3 separate regions of the Homo sapiens genome follow, and regions 1 and 2 are each linked to region 3. The links are contacts of gene promoters, found by promoter capture Hi-C in blood cells and fetal thymus (Javierre and others, 2016). All regions are on one chromosome and are shown on one strand. Each heading gives the region's core, a stretch centred on a gene start or on the middle of the fragment in contact. The rest is flanking DNA. Distances are from core to core; before and after follow the strand shown.

The links. Contacts are between HindIII fragments. The CHiCAGO score rates a contact against its expected background, and 5 or more counts as called.
Region 1: a fragment that was not itself captured here is called in contact with the fragment with the promoter of IL17RA in region 3 in 1 of 17 cell types (endothelial precursors); the score reaches 5.3 in endothelial precursors.
Region 2: a contact is called between a fragment that was not itself captured here and the fragment with the promoter of IL17RA in region 3, in 1 of 17 cell types (M2 macrophages). The highest score is 5.5, in M2 macrophages.

What each region holds. Positions count from the first base shown.
Region 1 is chr22:17,460,954-17,463,795 of GRCh38, forward strand. The region is part of intron 1 of CECR2 (CECR2 histone acetyl-lysine reader); the gene reads left to right. Among named protein-coding and RNA genes, the nearest start is that of CECR2, 93 kb to the left of the region's middle. The HindIII fragment of the contact is 2,231 bases long and covers 237-2,467 here.
Region 2 is chr22:17,527,495-17,530,194 of GRCh38, forward strand. The region is part of intron 9 of CECR2 (CECR2 histone acetyl-lysine reader); the gene reads left to right. Among named protein-coding and RNA genes, the nearest start is that of SLC25A18, 35 kb to the right of the region's middle. The HindIII fragment of the contact is 2,175 bases long and covers 300-2,474 here.
Region 3 is chr22:17,083,550-17,086,249 of GRCh38, forward strand. IL17RA (interleukin 17 receptor A) reads left to right here and starts at 1,451. Exons shown (of 13, transcript NM_014339.7): 1 at 1,451-1,680. The coding sequence starts at 1,543. RefSeq lists an enhancer at 511-680 and silencers at 1,234-1,453, 1,474-1,593, 1,844-1,943, 1,984-2,233. The HindIII fragment of the contact is 13,521 bases long and covers 1-2,700 here.

The sequences.
Region 1 (2,842 bases), core at 102-2,601, 380 kb after region 3:
GCTTAGTCTTAGCTGGCCTTTAGTTCCATCCTGGAGACCTGTTTGGGGGTGCTGTGTGTCTCTTTGTAGACCTGTCAATCCTGTGGTTGCTTCCCTAATTCGCAGCATCAGGGAATCACCCATTACCGCGATGGGTTTCCCCGGTCGTGCTGCTCTGCCAGCAGCTGTAGCAGCTCTTATTTGTAGAAATGGGACGTTCTGTTTATTGTAGGTCCTAGTCAATCTGATATGAGGAAAGCTTCTCTTCTCTTTCTCTGTTGGTTCAGAGTTTATTCTTTTTTATCCAAAGCAACTGCTGATACACAACTTACTGATATTAAGTTTGATTCCCACCAGTCTCCTAAAACAATGGTGATTTTTTTTAAGAAAGTTATTTCCTTTATCCTCTTTTAAATATTCTGTTTGTGAGACAGTATTTTTCAAGTCCCATTCTCTTTCAAGTATTCAAAGATGGTGGATGCCTCAGGCAGAAAAATAGATACAACAAACTCCCTATATTTCCCACCCCATCTGTACTTCCTGTTGGGGTTAGGACTCATTTAGAATTTACCATCATTTGCTAGGCACTTTCTCCTGAAACTCCTGGCGAGGAGTTTGATGGCTTTCGTTATCAGTAGACCAATTTATCCAGGTAAAAGCAATTAGCATTCTCCAGTGAGCCCAAGTGTGTGAGCCCTTCTCATGGGCAAGCCTTTGTGCACCAGAATACACAGAAGTCAGTCTTCGTTCCAGATGTTTCCCATGTTTTTCCTCTGCGATGGGATTGGGTGGGAGTGAAGAAACCATGCCTATGACAACAGAAGAAACAACATGAGTCAAGACTGGGAAGTACCCGTTACTTTTTTTTTTTTTTTTTTGAAATGGAGTCTCGCTCTGTCGCCCAGGCTGGAGTGCAATGGCACAACCTTGGCTCACTGCAACCTCCGTCTCCAGGGTTCAAGTGATTCTCCTCCCTCAGACTCCTCAGCAGCTGGGACTACAGGTGCGCACCACCAAACCCGGCTAATTTTTTTATTTTTAGTAGAGACAGGGTTTCACCATGTTGGTCAGGCTGATCTCGAACTCCTGACCTCGTGGTCCACCCGCCTTGGCCTCCCAAAGTGCTGGGACTACAGGCATGAGCCACCATGCTCGGCAGTACCTGTTACTTTTTTAAAGATAAAGATCTTGACCGGGCGCGGTGGCTCACACCTGTAATCCCAGCATTTTGGGAGGCCGAGGCAGGCGGATCACGAGGTCAGGAGATCGAGACCATCCTGGCTAATACGGTGAAACCCTGTCTCTACTAAAAATACAGAAAATTAGCTGGGCATGGTGGCGGGCGCCTGTAGTCCCAGGCAGAGCTTGCAGTGAGCAAAGATCGTGCCACTGCACTCCAGGCTGGGCAACTGAGCGAGACTCCATCTGAAATAATAATAAAAAAAAAAGATAAAGATCTTAAGATAATACTGAGAAGGTGTAGGTTGAGGTCATTTGGGGAGGCTTTGAATGTTAAGTTCAGGATACAGACTTAATCTGATGAATTGCGAGGAGTCTTTGGAGGCTTCTACACGAAAGCAATATTGTCAGAATTGAATTTAAGCAAATTTAATTGGGCAGAGGTTTAGTCTGTATTGGATATGGGGAACCAGTTTGGAAGTCCCGGTGAGAAGTTTAGGTCATCAAAACCTGCCTGTCCTAGGCCAGCTGCAGTGGCTCACGCCTGTAATCCCAGCACTTTGGGAGGCCGAGGCGGGTGGATCACGAGGTCAGGAGTTCAAGACCAGCCTGGCCAAGATGGTGAAACCCCATCTCTACTAAAAATCAAAAATCAGCTGGGTGTGGTGGCGAGCACCTGTAATCCCATCTACTCAGAAGGCCGAGGCAGAGAATTGCTTGAACCTGGGAGGTGGAGGTTGCAGTGAGCCAAGATCGTGTCACTGCCCTCCAGCCTGGGCAACAGATCGAGACTCCGTCTCAAAAAAATTTATTAAATACTCACTGTGGGCAAATACAATTTTGGGGAAACAGCCACAAACCCAAAGCAGACAAAGCTCCTCAAGGGGTTTGCTTAATAATGGTGGAAGACAGAAAATAAATGCATATAATCAATAGCTGGTAGGTTAGTTAGAAAAATAAAGCAGAGTAGAGGGACGAGACAGTGACTGGACCTATAGAAAGTGAGGGAGAGGCTATTCCAGGCAGAACCTAGTGCAGATGCCCCAGCCGGGAGTGCTGAGTGTATCTGAGGAGCAGGTAAGAGGCCAGTATGAGTTAGGGAGGTGATCAAGGATGAGAGTAGTGAGAAGCGATGTTAGCGTGTCAGCAGGAGGCTGACAGGTGAGGTCTTAGAGGTCATATAAACTTTGGATTTAGTTCTAAAGGAGACATTGGTACAAAGGGGTGGAATGCTCTGACTCACGTTTCGAAGGCTCACTAGCTGTTGATATGAGGAGCAGACAGAGAGAAGCAGGGAGTTTGGTGAGGAAGCTTTTAAATGGATGAAGCTCAGACAAATGGGCCATGGAGATGGTGTGAGAAGAGAGGGGTTTCTGAATCTCTTTTGAATATAGTCATCAGGATTTGTTAATTGACTAGATGTGAAAAGAGAGAAAAAGGGAAGAGTCAAGGATGCCTCAATTTTTTGCTGGAGAAATATGCCATTTACTGAGACTGGGGAGTTAGAGGGAATCAGGTTTGAAGAGGTGAGATCCAAAGCTCGGTTTGGTTCTGTTAAGTTTGCGCTGCCTGTTTGACATTCATTGCTGACGTCGGGGACGGGCACTGGGATAAGGGGACTCCGGAGTTGAGGAGAGGTGGGGGGGTGTAATGAGAGCCAGCCTAATCGATGGGATTTTGAGCC
Region 2 (2,700 bases), core at 137-2,636, 440 kb after region 3:
GGTGGCTCATGCTTGTAATCCCAGCACTTTGGGAGGCCGAGGCGGGCAGATGACTTGAGATCAGGAGTTCAAGACCAACCTGGCCAACATGGCAAAACCCTGCCTCTACTAAAAATACTAAAATTAGCTAGGCATGGTGGCACACGCCTGTAATCCCAGCTACTCAGGAGGCTGAGGCAGGAGAATTGCTTGAACCTGGGAGACAGAGGTGGCAGTGAGCAGAGATCAAGCCAAGACTTCATTCCAGCCTGGGCAATACAGCAAGATTCTGTCTCAAAAAAAAAAAAAAAAAGCAAACAAGCTTATGAAAAAAGTGCTCAGTATCATTGATCATCAGAGAAATGGAAATCCAAAACTATTATGAGATATCATCTTACACAGTTAAAATGGTTTATACCCAAAGGACAGGCAATAACAAATACTGGTGAGAATGAGAAGAGGAAATCCTCATATACTGTTGGTAGGAACATAAATTAGTCCCCCGCTATGGAGAACAGCTTAGATGTTCCTTAGAAAACTAAAAAGAGAGCTACCATAAAATCTATTAATCCCACTGCTGGGTATACACCCAAAAGAAAGGAAATCAATATATTGAAGAGATAACTACACTCCCATATTTTTTGCAGCTCTGTTCACAATAGCCAAGATTTGGAAGCAACCTAAGTGTCCGTCAGCAAATGAATGGATAAAGAAAATGTGGTACTGATACACAAGGGAGTACTATTCAGCCATAAAAACAGAAAGATGCAGTCGTTTGCAACAACATGGATAGAACTGGAGGTTATTATTTTAAATGAAATAAGACAGGCACAGAAAGACAAACATTGGATATTCTCACTTACTTGTGGGATCTAAAAATCAAAATAATTGAACCCGTGGAGATAGAGGGGAAAAGGATGGTTACCAGAGGCTGGGAACGATAGTGGAGGGTTGGGGAGAGGTAGGATGGTTAATGGGTACAAAAAAAATAGTTATTATGAATGAATATGATCTGGCATTTGATAGCACAGCAGAGAAGTATGGCTTTTTTTTTCTTTTCTTTTCTTTTTTGTTATTTTTGAGACAGAGTCTCACTCTTTTGCCCAGGCTAGAGTGCAGTGGCATGATCTGGTCTCACTGCAACCTCCACTTCTCAGGTTCAAGTGATTACCATGCCTCAGCCTCCCAAGTAGCTGTGATTACAGGTGTACACTACCACACCCGGCTAATTTTTGTATTTTTAGTAGAGATGGGGTTTTGCCGTGTTGGCCAGGCTGGTCTTGAACTCCTGGCCTCAAGTGATCCATCTGCCTCAGCCTCCCAAAGTGCTGGGAATACAAGCGTGAGCACACACCCAGCCAGAAGTACTATTTTCATTCCAGTGGTGAGAAGGTGGAGAGTAGACAAATATTGTGGGATAATAGTGGTGAGTGATCTGAAGTAAAATTAGGCAGGTTTACAGGTAAAGAGTGACATGGCTGGGCGTGGTGGCTCCATCTGTGGTCCCAGCTACTTGGGAGGCTGTGGCAGGAGGACCCCTTGAGCGCAGGAGATCGAGGCTGCAGTGAGCGCTGATTTCCCCTGCTGAACACAGCCTGGGTGATAGAGCAAAACCCTGTCTCAGACAAAAAAGAAAGCCCTCTCTGAAGATTTGACATTTAAATAAAGTGAATGAGGTTGACCCGTGAGTGCCTGAAGCGGAAGGCGCAGTGCAGACAAGAGCAGAGGCACGGAGGCAGGGATATGCAGCAGGAAGTCCAGGGCGAGGCTGCAGCGGAGGGGAGCAAAGCAAGCACAGGAAGGCTGGCTGGAAGTCCCGGCGCGGCTGGAGCGGAGCAGAGCAGAGCAAGCACAGGAAGGCTGGCTGGGCATGAATTGAGTCCTACCAGGTAGCCCAGGGTCGCATTGGGATGGGCTGTGCAGACCTTGTTAGAAGGGTTAAATGGGCTGGGCGCCGTGGCTCACGGTTGTAATCCCAGCACTTTGGAAGGCCGAAGTGGGCGAATCACGAGGTCAGGAGATCAAGACCATCGTGACTAACACGGTGAAACCCCGTCTCTACTAAAAATACAAAAAATTAGCCAGGCGTGGTGGCACATGCCTGTAGTCCCAGCTACTCGGGAGGCTGAGGCGGGAGAATGGCGTGAACCCGGGAGGCGGAGCTTCCAGTGAGCCGAGATCGCCCCACCGCACTCCAGCCTGGGCGACAGAGCAAGATTCCGTCTCAAAAAAAAAAAAAAAGGAAGGATTAAATGAAAACAGGACAGTCTCTGACACACATTTAAAGTCACAAATGATAGTTTTCTTTGTTTGAGACAAAGTCTCGCTCTGCCTCCCATGATAGTTCTTATGGAAGGAATTTTTGTAAGCCATAAGATACTTACAATAACCTTTTCCAGACTTTTTAGTAGCTTCCAACTACAAAAAAAGAGAAATAATCAATTATGTACTAATCAGACACTTTTAAAAATTACAACAGTTTATTCAGAGAAACAAGCTTTGTGTGACATTCTAAGCGGATTTTATTCTGCAGGTCCTTTTAACATAATGAGTAATATTTGTGTTGGGAATGACTGAGAAGAAATTTCATAATGATGTGAAGATCTACCTGTAAATAGTTCCTCTGTCGTATGCTGGTATTTATATTCTAGCATCTCAACAGTGCTGATGGTCACTCATCTTGGAGTTCCCTGAATTTTTTTTTTTTTTCAAAACTCCTGT
Region 3 (2,700 bases), core at 201-2,700:
GCTGATTTTTAAGTAACAGTTACATCCTCTACATCTATTTAGACTTAGGATGGAGAATTTTAGATGTCATCTTTAAAATGCATGAGAGGATGCAGTTTTCCAAAATTCTTTTAGAAACAGACAATTTGAAGGCCACTGAGCTTCAGGCTTCATTCAGCTGGGTCGTGTCTGCGGGCGGGGCTCATAGAGATGTCGCTGGGGGTCAGCGGGTGCTTCGGGCAGCGAAAAAACCCACCTCTCGAGGGCAGTGGAAAATACAGGGAAAAGCCACTTGAGTGTAGACTCCGTGCGTGTCAAGGCCAGGCAGAGGCGCACTTGATAGGCAAGGAAAAGCGGACGGTGGTGGTCTTGGGAGGAAGAGAGGAGAGGCGAATGGGCAGGAGCGTGTGGATGCACTAGGGCAGGACGGGCTCGAAGCAGGAACCTAGGATAGAGGCAGCGCGGGCCGGCTTGGGAGGGTCCTCCAGGGTCCGGAGAGGAGAGGACGCAGGCTGCACGCGTGCTAAGAAGGAGACTCATGAAATGTGTAATTCGCTGGCGACAGCTTCCGCGGCCGTGGAGTGAGCCTCTGGGAAGTAACGACTCTCTTAGGTGCGGCTGGGACACAGTCTCACAGACCAGGTAAGTTGCCTGCCCTCCAGGAACTCAAGTGTCCCCGAGTCCGAGCCAGGAGGCTGGAAGTGACTGCTGTCCCATCCTCCCTGGAGCCCGGAGCTGTCCTTGTCTTGAGAAAGAGAAAGCAAAGCCAAGGAAAGCAGAGCGAGCAGAACCAGGCAAAGGGGTGGGGACAATAAAATGGGATATGGCCCGCGCTTCCATCTACTCAGGAGGCAGAGGCAGGAGGATCGCTTGAGCCCGGGAGGCCGAAGCTGCAGTGAGCTGCGGTTGCACCACTGCACTCCAGCCTGGGAGACAGAGGGAGACCCTGTCTAAAAATAAAGTAAAATAAAAAACAAAAATAAAAGGGACAGAGACTAAGAAAACGGACTTCCTGAAATCCCAAGTTGGGATTTCACGTCCAGTGACCCACAAGAGAAGCAAGAAGTCTGAACAGGGCCAAGAATCAAGTGAGTGGGGGCGGAGGATTAAAATCGACAGTTGCTGCGGCACGGCCAGGGTGGAGGGTGCATGTGGGGCAGGCGAGGCTCCAGCTGGAGTTGACGCTAGCCCGACGCGGGTGCAACTGGAGGCGCGACGGGCCAGGCCCAGGAGCAGCGGGAGGAGCGCACCTGGGGCGCGCGGGCGGAGGAGGGCCGGGGAGGGACGCCGGAAGGACTGGGTAGGGACGCCCGGAGGACTGAGCGTAGGGCCGAGAGGAGGGGCGCAAGGAGGAACGGGGGGAGGGCCCTGTCTCACCCTAAACCCCTCCCCGTCCCAGACTAAACTCCTCCCCTCGGCCCGGCCCGCCCCTGGGCCCGGGCTGGAAGCCGGAAGCGAGCAAAGTGGAGCCGACTCGAACTCCACCGCGGAAAAGAAAGCCTCAGAACGTTCGTTCGCTGCGTCCCCAGCCGGGGCCGAGCCCTCCGCGACGCCAGCCGGGCCATGGGGGCCGCACGCAGCCCGCCGTCCGCTGTCCCGGGGCCCCTGCTGGGGCTGCTCCTGCTGCTCCTGGGCGTGCTGGCCCCGGGTGGCGCCTCCCTGCGACTCCTGGACCACCGGGCGCTGGTCTGCTCCCAGCCGGTGAGACTCGACGTGGGGAGCGGTAGCCGCCAGGATGCTGCGGACGCGGGGCAAGGTCGCGGAGGGCCGGACGGTCGGGACTACGCGCCCGGGCTGGGGAGGCAGGAAGTCCGCGCCGCGGGCTTAGAGGGGCTCAGAGCCTTGGGCACAGATATCGCGGCGCCTGGGGAGGACCCTCGGAGCGGTGGGAGTTGCGGTGTGGAATACGGGGGGGGTGGGTGGCACATCGCGCGGCGCGTGTTGCACAACCTGGCCCGCCGTCGTGACTGGAGGCGGGAGTGACACCTCCGCCCGGGCCGCGGAGTTCGGGGAAGGAGGGCGCGGCGCTGGGCCAGGCCGGAGGGGCGGCCAGGGCTGATAGAAAGGGGCTGTGGAGAAGGGGCCCGGGGAGGAGCCAGGACGGGTCTGGACCCAGCTCCACGCCTTGCGCCCCTCACGTACCCCGGCGGGGCACGGTCGGCCCTCGGGAGGCCCATCGCGCCCTCGGGAGCTTCCCTCAAGCCGTGCCCTTCATGCCGCCGACGGAGCCGGGCGAGCCCACGTCGTCCGTGCGGAAGGTGGAGTCCCTCACCCGCGGCCCCCAGAGGGACCCCGCTGTCGTAGAGCCACGCGGGGGCCGGAGCGCTGAGACGCGGCACCATGTTTCGGGGAGAGCTCTGCCGAGGGCGGCTGAGGGCCACCTCCCCAGAGGCGCGAAGCCCTGAGGATGGGCAGATGGTTCTTAAGACGGCGCCCTTCCCGCCACTCCCACCCCCGACTACCACCACCTGGGTCTGGGAACCCGGTGAGAGCGCAGTCGGAGGGTCGAACGTTTGTAGCTGTCAAGTCGTAGCCCCGCTGCGCCCACAGGAAGTGACCCACCCGCCTGCCGGGTAGTGGCCTTTCTGTGAGCCAGGACCATCTTAAGGAAAAAAACAAAAAAAGAGCAAAACGCCGTGCCCCTCCACAATATACTCTCCTCTTCCCCGCATCCCCGAGGGGATCTTTCCTCCCCTCCACCTCCACCTCCACCTCCACCGC